Regions from separate parts of the Homo sapiens genome. Here regions 2 and 3 are each linked to region 1. The links are contacts of gene promoters, found by promoter capture Hi-C in blood cells and fetal thymus (Javierre and others, 2016). All regions are on one chromosome and are shown on one strand. Each heading gives the region's core, a stretch centred on a gene start or on the middle of the fragment in contact. The rest is flanking DNA. Distances are from core to core; before and after follow the strand shown.

Region 1 (4,666 bases), core at 1,091-3,590:
TGGCGGTGGGCTCAGGGGTGGGACAGGGCCTGAACTCCAGCCCAAGGGGTCTCCATGAGCCCTGTCTTGACTGCGAGGCCCCATGAAGCTAAAGCCACACTACAGCCGCGCACACACAGCCGGTTCCCAGGATTACAGCGGAAAGACGGCCTCCTCCGGGAAGCCCTCTCTGATGGCCTTACAGGAAGGGCCTGCCTCGGCACTGCCTCCGCGGCTCTGCACACTCCAGGCCACACTCATACACGTCTACCGTGGGTTCTGGTTATCTGTTCACAGCTCACTGCAACCTTGAACTGGGCTCAAGCGATCCTCCCATCTCAGCCTCCCAAGTAGCTGGGACTAACAGTGCAGGCCCCCATGCCCGGCTAATAAGCAGTTAATAAACTGTCACTGAGATGCTCCCTCGGAGACTTGTGGCCACCGGTGTCCCTGCCTGCCAGTCTCCTGATGGCCCCCTGCCCCAGCTCACCTACAGATCCATTCCCTACACCAGTGCCCCGTGCACCCGGGAAGCAGCTCTGCCCTCAGCCCAGCCCTCCACAGCCTTCCTGGGCTCCCAGCACCCCCTGAAAGCCACCTCACCGCACTGGGGTCAAGGGCTCTGGACAAATCCCTGCAGCCGTGTGGCCCTCGCGGGCCTACACACGCACTCCCACCCCACCCCTGCGCACACCGCCCTGGCCTCTCTGTGTATCTGAGTCTCTCAGGAGGGTCCTGTCCCTGACTCCCTGCCCTCTCTGCCCAGCCCCTGCCCTCGGGCACCACTTCCTCCTTGCCCCTGCCTGGCCCTTCCTTGCCACAGCGCCTGGCCGCTTCTCTACCTGGGGGCTGTTCTGTTCCCACCTGGGGACTGCTCCGGGTCGGGGGCTGTGTGTGGCTTCGGGCTTGGGGAAGTTGCTTCTCGCCCATCTCCTGCACAGGAGTCCCGGTCCCTCTAACAAGCTGTGACCTTTGCTCCCCAGCTCCCTACAGAGCAAAGTCCAACCCCCTGCCAACCTCCCACCAGCCTTCTCCAGGGTGTCACGCCTCTGGAAGGAGAAGGCCCCTTCCCCTTTCCAGCTATGTGAGCCTGGGAAAGACCTCTGGTCTCTCTGAGACTCAGTCTTCTTGTCTGTGAAATGGGACCACACTGCAGACCTCAGTGAGCCGAGTGACGAGCCTGTGAAATAGCCAGGGGTGCCCGGTGGGCGCTCTGCCCTCAGCCTGGCAGAGATCTCCCCATTTTCAGGCCCAGCTCCCACATGCCACATCCTGGGGAAGCTCATCCCCTCCCCCGTGCCCTGGCCGATCCCACTTCTGACAGCGTCTATAGCAGCGGCACCCAGGGGGACCGGGCTGAGCCACGGCCACGTCCTGTGGAGACCAAGGTCCTGAAGGAGGCTCGGGGGCGGAAGGGCTTACCTGGTGGCAGGTGAGCACCAGGGCAGTCCACACGAAGATCCCCGAGACGCCTCGGGCCAGTGCGGAGGTGAGGAAGAGCCAGGGGGCCCCCTGGGAGCTGTTCCCCATGTGGTCCATCTGCGGCCCAGCTGGCACAGCCGGTGGGGGGCTGGGCTGCGGCCAGTTCGCTGACACCAGGGGGACGCCGGCTGTCTCCAGGATCCCTGAGACATTACTCATCTGCAGAGGGAGGGAGGACACACACCGGGAGGAGTGAGGGCAAAGGTACTGGCTCCCGGCAGCAGGAAGCAGCGGGGGAGGGAGGAGACAGTGAGACGGGAGCTGAGGCTGAGCCACCCACCAGGCCGCACCCCCCACACGGACACCAGCGCCAGGCCCGGCTCCCTCCCTGCTCCGAGCTCAGCCATCGAAGCTCACCCATCAACCACCTGCGACCTGAGGGTCCCACCTCAATTCCCCCTTGTAAAACCAGCTTCCAACTCCGAGTCTCAGGCTTGCAGGGAGCCTGCTTCTTAGGGGACAAAGACCGTCTTCCAGTGGGGCAGAAGAGGGGGAACCCCTGCCGCCCTGCCTGCCCGGGAGGGCTGGGGAGCGGGCGCAGACCAGCACTGCCTGCCCCGGCAGGAGGGGGTGTGCAGCCACCCTCATGGGAGGAGCCGGCCCTCACTGGCTCTGGGACCTGTCCACCCACCTGGGAGCCCGGCTTTGCTGGGGTTCTTGGCAGCCCTGGGTGCCTGTTCCATCTCCCACTAACCTGCTGGGGCCCTGAGTCCACCCTCTCCCACACTCGCAGCCCAGTCCAGCCTCCTCCTCTCCCTCTGGTCTGCGGTCACAGGGCCCAGCTCTACCTTTGCTGGCAGGAAGCACCTGGCCCAGTCCAGGGAGGCCTGGCCTCCAGGGAAGCCTAGCTGGTCATTCTCATGGCCACGTGGCCCCAACTGGAGGCCCCACTGTGGGTGCGGCAAGGCCAGGATCTGAAGGGCTGTGCCAGGCTGGGGCGGGGCGGCCAGTGCCTCACGTCCCCAGTGGCCCACCTGGGCCCCAGGCTGCAGGCCCGTCCCCTCCTGTCCCCTCCCACGGCTGACACCCTATCCTCCCGGTTGTTTGCTGGGTGGCAGCTGGCTCCCAGGAACCTGCTGGCCGCCTGGCGCCCTCACCTGCCTATGCCAGACGGCCAGGCAGCTGCCACCTGGTGGGGACACGTGGGAGAGGTCTGCGGCAGGCCAAGGAGGGCCGGGCTGCAGGAGGAGGGGTGGAGAGCTAATGGTACAGGGTTTCTCTGGGGGGTGACAGGAGTCCTGAAATGAGGTAGAGGCGGCAGGCACACAGCACTGTGGATATACTTACCGCCACCGAATCGTTCACTTAAACCTGGGTAAATTGATGTTATGTGAATTTCATCTGAATTAAAAAAAAAATCCACGCCCCAAGAGATGAGTTGAAAACATTTGTTTTCTGGGCCGGGCGTGGTGGCTCACGCCTGTCATCCCCACACTTTGGGAGGCCAAGGTGGGTGGATCACTTGAGGTCAGGAGTTCGAGACCAGCCTGGCCAACATGGTGAAACGCCGTCTCTACGAAATACGCAAAAATTAGCTAGGTGTGGCAGCGTGCACCTGTAATTCCAGATACTCAAGAGGCTGAGACAGGAGAATCGCTTGAACTCAGAAGGCGGAGGTTGCAGTAAGCTGAGATCACACCACTGCACTCCAGCCTGGGGACAGAGGGAGACTCTGTGTCCAAAAAAAAAAAAAAAAAAAAAAGGAAATATTTCTGGTTTTTGTGGATCAAGGCAGGAGAGGGGGAGTGACAGCCCAGTCCCTGGACCCTTTGGGGTCTGGCAAGGGGTTGCGGGGCCCTGAGGGTCCCTGTCACCCCCATGCAGAGGCCCCTGTGGAGAAAAAACTCACTCACCCCGGCTCCTGGGAGAGGGATGTGGGCCCTCAGCCCACCTCTTGTCCTGTTCTGGTTACGCTTGGGCTCATGCCGCTGGGGCCACCATTACCAAGTCCCGCTCCATGCCCGCAACGGATCCACACACTCCTTGTCCTTCATATCTCCTACCCTCCCACAGCCCTGAGCAACAGGGCTCAAGGGGTTGAGGCTGGAATGACTGGAGCCACTGTTCCCCTTTTATTTTTAATTAATTTATTTTTTGAGACGGAGCCTCGCTCTGTCGCCAGGCTGGAGTACAATGGCGCGATCTCGGCTCACTGCAACCTCCGCCTCCTGGGTTCAAGTGATTCTCCTGCCTCAGCCTCCCGAGTAGCTGGGATTACAGGCGCCCACCACCACACCTAGCTAATTTTTGTATTTTTAGTAAAGACGGGGTTTCACCACGTTGGCCAGGCTGGGCTTGAACTCCTGACCTCAGGTGATCTGCCCGCCTCAGCCTCCCAAAGTGCTGGGATTACAGGTTTGAGCCACCACGTCCGGCCTGTTCCCCTTTTAGAGATGGGAACGAGAGGCGCATCAACGCGTCCAGCATCCTTGAGGGGTCCGTGAGGGGCCCGGGCTGAGGCCCATCCTTCCCTGGGACACCCTGCCTGCTTTTCCCAACTCCTCCACTGACACTGTCCCTCCAGGGAGGCTCCCAGGTGGGGAACAAGCTCAGGAAGTCGTGCCCAGCTCTCAGGCCCGCCTTGCCTAACCTCCCCATCAGCGCCCACCCGGGCCCGGGCCCAGAGCCACAGCATGCACACCCTGGCTGGGCCCTCCTGGAGCCTGCCTGCTCCCCAGGCAGGGACCTTCTGGACCAACCGACCCTGCTCCCGGGTGACTCTGTCCTGCAGCCTCAGGCGTCACCTCTGGAGAGACCATCCCCGCTGTCCCATCACCCTCCTCACTGTGTGTGTGACTCCCTGTCCACCTGTCTGTGTTTGCTGCTGGTCCTCCCTCTGCAGGAGCTGCCAGAGCCTAGAGCTGTGCCCTGTCCATGCTCGGGGCACAGGGCTTGCGGGGTGGGGGCTGTCCTGCTGAGGCGGTGACCCTGTGGGCTAAGGTCTCCCTTTGGCCAGGCAGGGGTGCTGGAAGGCGGTCCCCAACTTCCATCCAGCTGCATTCCCACTGCAGCCACAGGTACTCCTGCCGGCCTCCCACCCGGCCTGCAGAGCCCCAGGCAGTCGGCTCAGCGCGTGTGGATGTCGCCCTCTGGCTGTGTCGGGATCACCGTCACGGACAACTATGAAGTGACGATGGCTGGGGGCCCGTTTGAAGGGTGAAGACTTTGGTGCCTGGGCATGCGCAGAGCTGGAAGGGACCGGGAA
Region 2 (4,666 bases), core at 792-3,291, 770 kb after region 1:
CTAGTCCCAGCTACTTGGGAGGCTGAGGCAGGATAATCGCTTGAACCTGGGAGGCAGAGGTTGCAGTGAGCTGAGATCACGCCACTGTACTCCAGCCTGGGGTGGCAAGGGCAAGACTCCATCTCAAAAAAAAAAGAATTTATAAAAAAAGAATGTATCTCATCCTGGCCGGGGGCAGTGGCTCACGTCTGTAATCATAGCACTTTGAGAGGCCAAGGCAGGAGGGTTACTTGAGCCCAGGAATTCAAAACCAGCCTGGGCAACGTAGTGACACCCCATCTCTATTTTCTTTCTTTCTTTTTTTTTTTTTTTGAGACAGAGTTTCACTGTGTCGTCCAGGCTAGAGTGCAGTGGTGTGATCTTGGCTCACTACAACCTCCACCTCCCAGGTTCAAACAATTCTCCTGCCTCAGCCTCCCAAGTAGCTGGGATTACAGGCATGCGCCACCACGCCTGGCTAATTTTTTGTATTTTAGTAGAGACAGGGTTTCACCATGTTGCCCAGGGTGGTCTCGAACTCCTGAGCTCAGGCAATCTGCCCACCTCAGCCTCCTAAAGTGCTAGGATTACAAGAGTGAGCCACTGTGACTGACCTATTTTTCAAAAAAATAAAAATAAAAATAAACTAAGAATAAAAAAAATTTAGGAAGTGGTATGATCAGTACTTTGCAGGCAACCAAGACCAGAAAAGTTCAACACCCTAAGATCCCAGAGCTGAGATCCTAGCCTAGGCTGCAAGACACCATTCTCACAACCCTTGTGGGCATTTGCCCTGTGTTATAAAGCTACCAATTTCTTCTCAACACTCTTCCTTTTTTTAATTTTTTGAGACAGGGTCTTGCTATCACACCCAGGCCGGAGTGCAGTGGTAGGATCATGGCTCACTGCAGCCTCCGTCTCCTGGGTACAAGAGATCCTCCTTCCTCAGCCTGCTGCGTAGCTGGGACTGCAGGCATTGGCCATGTAGCCAGGCATGGTGGCACACGCCTGTAGTCCCAGCTACAGGCTATTTATTTTTTGTAGAATGGTGTCTCACTGTATTGCCCAGGCCAGTCTCAAGGACAGTCTCAAGCTATCCTCCTGACTTGGCCTCCCAAAGTGCCAGGATTACAGGCATGAGCCACCATGCCTGGCCCACTGCTTTTATAAAAAAATTTTTTTAGAGACAGAGTTTTGCTCTCTTGACTAGGCTAGGGCACAGTGGTGCAATCAGAGCTCACTGCAGCATTAATCTCCTGGGCTCAAGCAATCTTCCTGCCCCAGCCTCCCAAAGTGCTGGGACTGTAGGCATGCACCATCACGCCAGCGGCAGTGGAAAAGTTTTGAGGTGGATACAGAAAAAGCTTAGGTTTCCTGGAATTGGTTGTTACTAGAAATAGGGAAGTTAAAAACTCTGCTAGTGAGGACTTTTAGAAGGAAATGAGGAACGTGGTATAGAAAACCTAAATCATCTGGGAGGATGCCTAAATGGTCACAAACAGACTCTTGGTAACAATACAGACGTTAAAGGTGCTGCTGATGAGGGCTCAGAATGTAATGAGGAATATCAGGCCAGGTGGGGTGGCTCATGCCTGTAATCTCAGCACTTTGGGAGGCTGAGGTGGGCGGATTGCTTGAGCTCAGGAATTTGAGACCAGCTTGGGCAACATGGCAAAACCCCGTCTCTACAAAATATATATACAAAAAATTAGCTGGGTGTGTTGGCAAGCGCCTGTAGTCCCAGCTACTCAGGAGCTGAGGCATGAGAATTGCTTGAACTTGGGAGGCGGAGACTGCAGTGAGCCAAGATCGTGCCACTGCACCCCAGCCTCGGCAACAGAGCAAGACTCTGTCTCAAAAAAAATTTTTTTAAATAAAAATAAAAAAATAAAAGAAGGTAACAGGAATGTGTTCTTGGAAACTGGAGAAAGGGGGACCCCATTATGTAGTCTCAGAAATCTTAGCGGGAATGTATCTTTGAATTATATGCAAAGCCAAACTTATAAATTATAAACTTGGATATTTAACTAAGAAGACTTCCAAGCAAAGTATTGAAAGTGAGGCTTGGTTTTTTCTTGCTGCTTATAGTAAATGTAAGAGGAAAGAGATAAATCAGCCAGGCACGGTGGCTCATGCCTATAATCCCAGCACTGTGGGAGGCTGAGTTGGGAGGAATTCAGGAGTTCAAGACCAGCCTGGGCAAAATAGTGAGACCCCTGTCTCTACAAAAAATACACAAATTAGCCAGGCATGGTGGCACATGTCTGTGATCCTAGTTACTTGGGAGGCTGAGGCAAGAGGATCGCTCGAACCAGGGAGGCGGAGGTTGCAGTGAGCTGTGATCATGCCACTGAACTCCAGCCTAGCAAGAGAGTGAGACCCTGTCTCTTAATAAATAAAATAAAAGGGGCCGGGCACGGTGGCTCACGCCTGTAATCCCAGCACTTTGGAAGGCCAAGGCGGGCAGATCACGAGGTCAGGAGATCAAGACCATCCTGGCTAACGCGGTGAAACCCCGTCTCTACTAAAAATACAAAAAAATTAGCCGGGCGTGGTGGCGGGAGTCTGTAGTCCCAGCTACTCGGGAGGCTGAGGCAGGAGAATGGCTTGAACCCAGGAGGCAGAGCTTGCAGTGAGCCGAGATCACGCCACTGCACTCCAGCCTGGGCGACAGAGTCTCACTCCATCTCAAAAAAAAATAATAATAATTAATTGAATTAAATAAATTAAAGGGATAAAATGTTGTGACCAAATGAAATGCAAGCTTGGTTTAATATTTCAAAATAAATCAAGGTAATTCACCATATATATTAGTTTCCCTGGGGTGCCATAGAAAAGTATCGCCAGGGGCTGGGCACAGTGGCTCACACCTATAATCCCAGCACTTTGGGAGGCCGAGGCAGGCAGATCACTTGAGCTCATAAGTTCGAGACCAGCCTTGGCAAAATGGCAAAACCCTGCCTCTACAAAAGATAATATAAAAATTATTTTTTAAAAAATATTACGAACTTGGTGGCTTGAAACAACAGAAACATATTGTCTCAGAGTGCTTGAGGCTAGAAGTCTGAAATCAAGTTGCCGGCAGGGCCACGCTGTCTCTGAAACTCATAGGGGAGGATTCCTTCTTGCTTCTTCCAGCTTCTGGTGTTTGTCTCCTAGGGGGTTCCTGGTTTGTGAACACGTCACCTCAGTCTCTGCCTCTGTCATCACACAGCTGCCTTCTCCTTGTATGTCTGTCTTCACAAGGCATTTCCTTTTTCCTTTTATTTTCTTTTTTGTTTTGAGACAGAGTCTGGCTCTGTTGCCCAGGCTGGAGTGCTGTGGTGCAATCTCGGCTCACTGCAAGCTCCGCATCCTGGGTTCACGCCATTCTCCTGCCTAAGCCTCCCAAGTAGCTGGGACTACAGGCGCCCACCACCATGCCTGGCTAATTTTTTTATTTTTTTTTTGGAAACGGAGTCTCGCTCTGTCGCCCAGGCTGGAGTGCAGTGGCGCGATCTCGGCTCACTGCAAGCTCCGCATCTCTGGTTCATGCCATTCTCCTGCCTCAGCCTCCAGAGTCGCTGGGACTACATGTGCCCGCCACCATGCCCGGCTAATTTTTTGTGTTTTTAGTAGAGATGGGGTTTCACTGTGTTAGCCAGGATGGTCTCGATCTCCTGACCTCATGATCCGCCCGCCTCGGCCTCCCAAAGTGCTGGGATTACAGGCGTGAGCCATCGCACCCGGCCTAATTTTTTGTATTTTAAGTAGAGACGGGGTTTCACCGTGTTAGCCAGGATGGTCTCTATCTCCTGACCTCGTGATCCGCCCGCCTTGGCCTCCCAAAGTGCTGGGATTGACAGGCGTGAGCCACCGCGCCTGGCCAGCATTTTCTTTTTCTTATTTCCTTTTTTTTTCTTTTCGAAACAAGGTCCCCATTTGTCACCCAGGCTGGAGTGCAGCGGCACGATCATGGCTCACTGCAACTTTCTGGACCTGCTGGGCTCAACGGACCCTCCTGTCCCAGCTTCCCACATAGCTGGGACCACAGGTGCGCACCACCATGTCCAACCTATTTTTTTATTTTGATTTTATTTGTTTGTTTGTTTTGAGATGGAGACTCACTCTGTCACCCAGGCTGGAGTGTTGTGACATGATCTCAGCTCACTGCAACCTCTGCCTTTCAAGGATTCAAGTGATTCTCCTGCCTCAGCCTCCCAAGTAGCTGGGACTACAGGCACGTGTCACCACGCCTGGCTAATTTTTCTGTTTTTAGTAGAGACAGGGGTTTCTCCACGCTGGCCAGGCAGGCTAGTCTCAAACTCCTGACTTCAAGTGATCCACCTGCCTTGGCCTCCCAAAGTGCTGGGATTACAGGTGTGAGCCACCATGCCTGGCCTGTTTTTTTATTTTCTGTACAGACAGGGTCTCACTATATTGCCCAGGCTGGTCTTCAACTCCTGGGCTCAAATGATCCTCCTGCCTTGGCCTCCCAAAGTGTTGGGATCACAGGCATGAGCCATCATGCCCAACCATTGAATGCTTTCAATATTTGAATCGAAATACTGAATGTGGCCAGTCACGGTGGTTCACGCCTGTAATCCCAGCACTTTAGGAGGCTAAGGCAGGCAGATCACTTGAGGTCAGGAGTTTGAGACCAGTGTGGCCAACATGGTGAAACACCATCTCTATTAAAAATACAAAA
Region 3 (4,666 bases), core at 1,380-3,879, 640 kb after region 1:
GAGCCTCCTCCCACTGAAAACCAAATCCCAGAACTGCCAGGAGGTGCTTGGCTCCCAGCAAAGGCAGGCAGGTCAGCCCTCCAGCAGGCTGGTAGGTCCTTCTTGCCAAAGTTCGGCTGGGAGCCATCAGGTCTGAAAAAGAAGCTATCAGCTGATGGGCTTCATGCCCGCACATGTGCTGAGTTCCGCTCAGGCTAAATGGATGGCAGCTCCCAACAGAATCCTTTCAGTGCCAGCATCGGGCTGATCAGCTCACAAAAATGCAGGATCCAGCTGCATGGCACCATGTGGCCAGCCAGATGGATGGAGGTTATTGAGGGCACAGCTCACCATACTCCAGGATCAGCCAAGCATTCCGGCAACAGGGCCACAAATTCACTGGATGCCCTTGGGCCAGTCAGCCCCTCCCAGAACCCAGCTTAGTCCACAGGGTTCTGAGGAAGAACGAATGAGACGCTGATTATCAACAGGCTTTGTCAACTACACAGCAGCTCTCCAGAGCCAACCACCACCGTCAACAGTGCCATCCTGCCAGCAAAGTGAAGACCCTCTTGAGAACAGGCTCTGTCTTTAAACAAATAAACTCTAGAAACTCTTGTAAGCCACCTGTTTCCAAACCAGGGAAAACGTCTGGCCTTCATTCCCACCAGCGTCATTCATATCCAACAAGGCCGTCTCCAACTAAGATACTCCCGCAAAACGCTCCTGCGGCATCTTCCAAAAGATTGCATCTGAGGAGGCACCCCTGTTGTTTTCATTGTTTAAAGCTGTCTGTGTGTGTGCACTACGTGGGCAGACTGTGCTGTGCTCGTCACAGCGTCGCCAGAGCCAGCCCAAAGCCTGGCAAACGGCAGGTCTCCAAATAAATGTTCAGATGAACAAACAAACGAGCGTCTCCAAAATCACAGTGCTACCCACAGACACTGTGGTCACAAAGGAACAGGCATTCACCTGAAGAGGAAACAGAAAAACAGGGAGAGTCTGGCCTTCAACACGAACCCTCTTCAGAAGTCAGAAGGCCTCGGGCTCCCTGCTCACAGGAACAGTGCGGCTCAATTCTAACTCTCACTACAACGCGGCTGACTCCACGGCTCCTACTCCATGAGGCTCTCAACTGACAACAGGAAACACCGCCCACCCTCCCCACACTTCGGGGCTGCTGAAACCTGCAGCGGGTCAGACAGCCCCAGGGACTTCCACCAGCAGGGTCCTGCCAAGGCGCCAGGTCCTCGCCCTGCGAATTCAGTGAGGAAAGAGGCCCCTTCACAATTGGCGGATGTGCTCCTCCCTGATGAAGACCTTCTGCGGCTCCTGTGACCTGCAGGACGCGGTCCAAACCACCCTCAGGACAGGACAGATCCCTGCCAACCTGTCCAGCTTCTGCCACATCCCAGGAGAACTGTGGTTAGAACCAGCTGGAGCCACACAACACTGTCCGAACACGCAGCATCTGGCCAACCTGTGTGCTGCCAGCACCCACCCTATCTGGAACATGCTGCCAGCCTCTCAAGTGTCATCTCTTCAGGAGCCACGCTTGACCTAGCAGACATATGCCCGGCTAGATCTGAGAGGACTGGAAAACAGCCCCTGACTTATAGCTGTATCCCCAGCACCCAGCACCAGGCCTGCACACCTATGTGTTCAAGAAGCACTCACCAGTGAAGAAGAGGAAGAAACCCCACTGCTCTGGAGGCTTCTAGCCTCTCCTCACTCCTCCTCTCATCTCCCGCCCCGACCCACGCATCACTCCGCCGACGCCTGGTACACACGACGTGCACTGCACAGCCACCTTCTCCCTGCACACGGGCCCAAGCTCGGACACAGGCACGACCAGGACTGGCGGGCTGCAGAGCTCTCTGACCCGGTGAGGCACTGGCCCTCAGGCTCAAAGCCACCTGCAAACGCCAAAATCCCTCCAGACTCGGGCCAGCTGTCTGCTCCTCTGGCTCTGCCACTCCCCTAGGCCGGCTCATCCCTGCCCCTCACTGGGCAGGCCAGCCCTAGGGCTCCTCTAGGAGCCATGCAGGCCTGACATCGGCTGCTGTCTGACACCTCCTTCTGGCTACATCACTGACACTTCAAACACACATTCCCAAAACAGAGTTCACAACCCCTCCCTGCCTGAGAGCCAAAACTGGTCCTAGCCCCCGGGTCCCAGCCCCCAGGTCCCAGCCCCCAGGCCCCAGCCTGTGACTGACCCCATCTCCCTGCACCCACAGGGCCCATCAGCCCCTCCTCTAAGAGCAGGCCTGGGAACAGGCCCAGGACGGGGCAACCACACCCAGTTCTGCCCCACAAGCGCCCCCGCTCATCCCAAGGTCCACCATGAGTTTGGGTTTTTTTTTTTTTTTTTGGAGGAAGGGTTATCTTTATATTTTTATTTTTAAAAATAGAGATAGGGTCTCACAGTGTTGCCCAGGCTGGTCTTGAACTCCCAGGCTCAAGCGATCCTCCCACTTCAGGCTCCCAAAGTGCTGGGATTACAGGTGTGAGCCAAGGCACCCAGCCCAGCGTGGATTTGTGCCAGGAAGAGCCAGCAGGAGCTGACCAGCCCCATGGAAGCCTCCAGGCCGGCTGCCTGCTCTCATCTCCCAAGAGCCCGCCTTTGCTTCTGCCAGCCACTCACGCTCTCCACAGGCTGCAGCCAGGTACACACCCCCCTTCAAGCAACAAAACCACTGCCTGAGCACCTGGCCTGCTCTAAGCCCAGGGCTGAGACAAGGGGGAGCCAGCCACACACAACACCAGGAGCGCTGGCATCGCCGGAGCAAGGAGCCCGTGATGGCCGTCCACCCGGGACAGCAATCGCGCTCTGCGGCACGAGGCTTTCAACAGAGGCGAGTGCTTCCTGGGGGTCAAGAGCATGGAACACACACTTCAGGCCCCCTCTCCAGGCTGCAGGCCAACAGGCGTCCATGAGACAGACACTCCCTGATGTGTCCCACTCAGTTCTCCTGCCGCTGAGTGACTCTCCCAGGGAGGCCCAGAGCCACATGCTCTTGGTAGCCCCTACTCCTCCAGGTGTTAAAGCAGGTGCCCATGTACAGTCCACAAGCACAGGCCATCAGGCTGGGCAAGGATGGGCAAGGAACCAGGCCCCTGCCCTTTGAGGCTCAGGAGCTCCAAGCTACAGAATAGGGTTCCAAAGCTCCAGCCACTCGGAGGACACACAGGCCACAGGAAGCCGGCGACCAGTCCACAGAGAGACGCGCTGTGGGGCCCGACAGGCTGAGGTCAGGCAGTGGGATCCCCCCTTCACAGTCCTCCCGGCCTTGGGCGGGGCTATCCAGGAGGGGGCTGCCCCTCCCTGCCAGAGTGCACTGGGGCCTGTATGATGCCAGCCTGAGAAAGATGCGCAACTCCAGCTCCACCTGCACGGAGATGCCCCACAGCAGATCCCTGCCAAAATGGCATTTGCAAAGCGAGGAAACTGAGCCCCAGGAAGGCCACAATGATCAAAAACGGTCTCACTGCAACTTCCAGATACATTTTCTAGGCCTCTGGTTTTGGCCTTTTTAAATGTTGGCATATGGACTAAGGAATGGAATACCTAACTGCTCTCCAAGAAAGGAGTTTGTTACTTCTGGGTCACAGATTCCACACGTTCACCTTTCTGGCCTTCATACCTCACGTGTCACAGCCAAGACTCCTAGGAGGTCCCCTGCCTGCCGTCATGAAGGGCGCCTGCAGCCTGGTGCGCCACCCCCACATGCCCTGCACGCGGCAAACCGCTCAATAAGGACTGCAGTGAACACTTTCTTTAAATCATTGATGGTTTTCTTAATCATCTTAGAATCACTCTGCTACACGGATGTCCCTGGAGTTTCGATTCCTAAATCAGCAGTCTTCCACTCCGCATCCGCGCCCCCGCAGTGCCCCGCCTGGCACGGGCAGGGGTGCCTCCCAGACAACGGAAACCAGACGAGGGCCAGGCCAGGCAGACACACCGGGCAGCCACTGAACTGCTGGGCCAAGACCTCCAGCCTCCCAAACCCAGATTCCTGGTCCTAGGAGACGGCTTTCTCAGCTGCAGCCCAGACTCCGCGGTAAGGCCACAACCCAACCCACCACCCACCTAGGTGCTTCCCAACGCCATGCTGGCCAGCAGGGCCCACACTCCGCACCATCCAGGTCAGCTGGACCAGTCCCCAGCTTAGGGCAGACAGTGAAGCCTGGATGAAAGGGATGGGAGAGCCCCCTGCAGTCACTGGTGACAAATCCCCCAGAGTTCCAGGAAGCCACACTCACAAAGGCCCGAGGGCAAGGGAGGGGTAACTGCCCAACACTCTCCATGAAGCCAAGGGTCTCAGAGCTCTTCCCACGCCTGCCCTCCATCCTCCACCCCTCCCGGGGCGCACCCACGACAGGTGGAGGGTGAAGAGCGGGACCAAGGCCTGCCGGCCAGGTGTGCACCACCCTACGCTAACATAGCACGCGGGGCGCCCACCCAACCACCCCACACCCGCCCCGGGCCGCCTGCCACCCTGGAATGCAGGGTGGACACTTGCGTTCACCTGGAACCTCTTCTCCACCTCATCCACATCCTCCTCAGGACTCCCCACCAGACGAAAGTCCCATGGCAACAGCCGGATCTTGTTCTCCACTGGGCCCCCGACACCAGGCACCAGGCCTGCACACAGGGGGTCTAAGGAAGGTTCGCTGGCCT

What was found. The method cuts DNA at HindIII sites, captures the fragments that hold promoters and counts their contacts. A CHiCAGO score of 5 or more calls a contact.
Region 2: a contact is called between a fragment that was not itself captured here and the fragment with the promoter of TMEM184A in region 1, in 2 of 17 cell types (monocytes and M0 macrophages). The highest score is 5.5, in monocytes.
Region 3: a fragment that was not itself captured here is called in contact with the fragment with the promoter of TMEM184A in region 1 in 1 of 17 cell types (M0 macrophages); the score reaches 5.9 in M0 macrophages.

The regions. Positions count from the first base shown.
Region 1 is chr7:1,553,865-1,558,530 of GRCh38, forward strand. It overlaps TMEM184A (transmembrane protein 184A), which reads right to left and starts at 2,341. Exons shown (of 9, transcript NM_001097620.2): 1 at 2,250-2,341; 2 at 1,402-1,620. The coding sequence starts at 1,620. RefSeq lists silencers at 867-1,049, 2,417-2,486, 2,527-2,616 and enhancers at 1,159-1,959, 1,529-1,823, 1,960-2,759. The HindIII fragment of the contact is 30,451 bases long and covers 1-4,666 here.
Region 2 is chr7:2,323,997-2,328,662 of GRCh38, forward strand. It overlaps a transcript of SNX8 not described here. Among named protein-coding and RNA genes, the nearest start is that of SNX8, 12 kb to the left of the region's middle. The HindIII fragment of the contact is 1,400 bases long and covers 1,342-2,741 here.
Region 3 is chr7:2,195,748-2,200,413 of GRCh38, forward strand. The region is part of intron 10 of MAD1L1 (mitotic arrest deficient 1 like 1); the gene reads right to left. LOC105375126 (a long non-coding RNA gene) reads left to right here and starts at 3,971. Exons shown (of 3, transcript XR_001745062.3): 1 at 3,971-4,046. The HindIII fragment of the contact is 6,509 bases long and covers 1-4,666 here.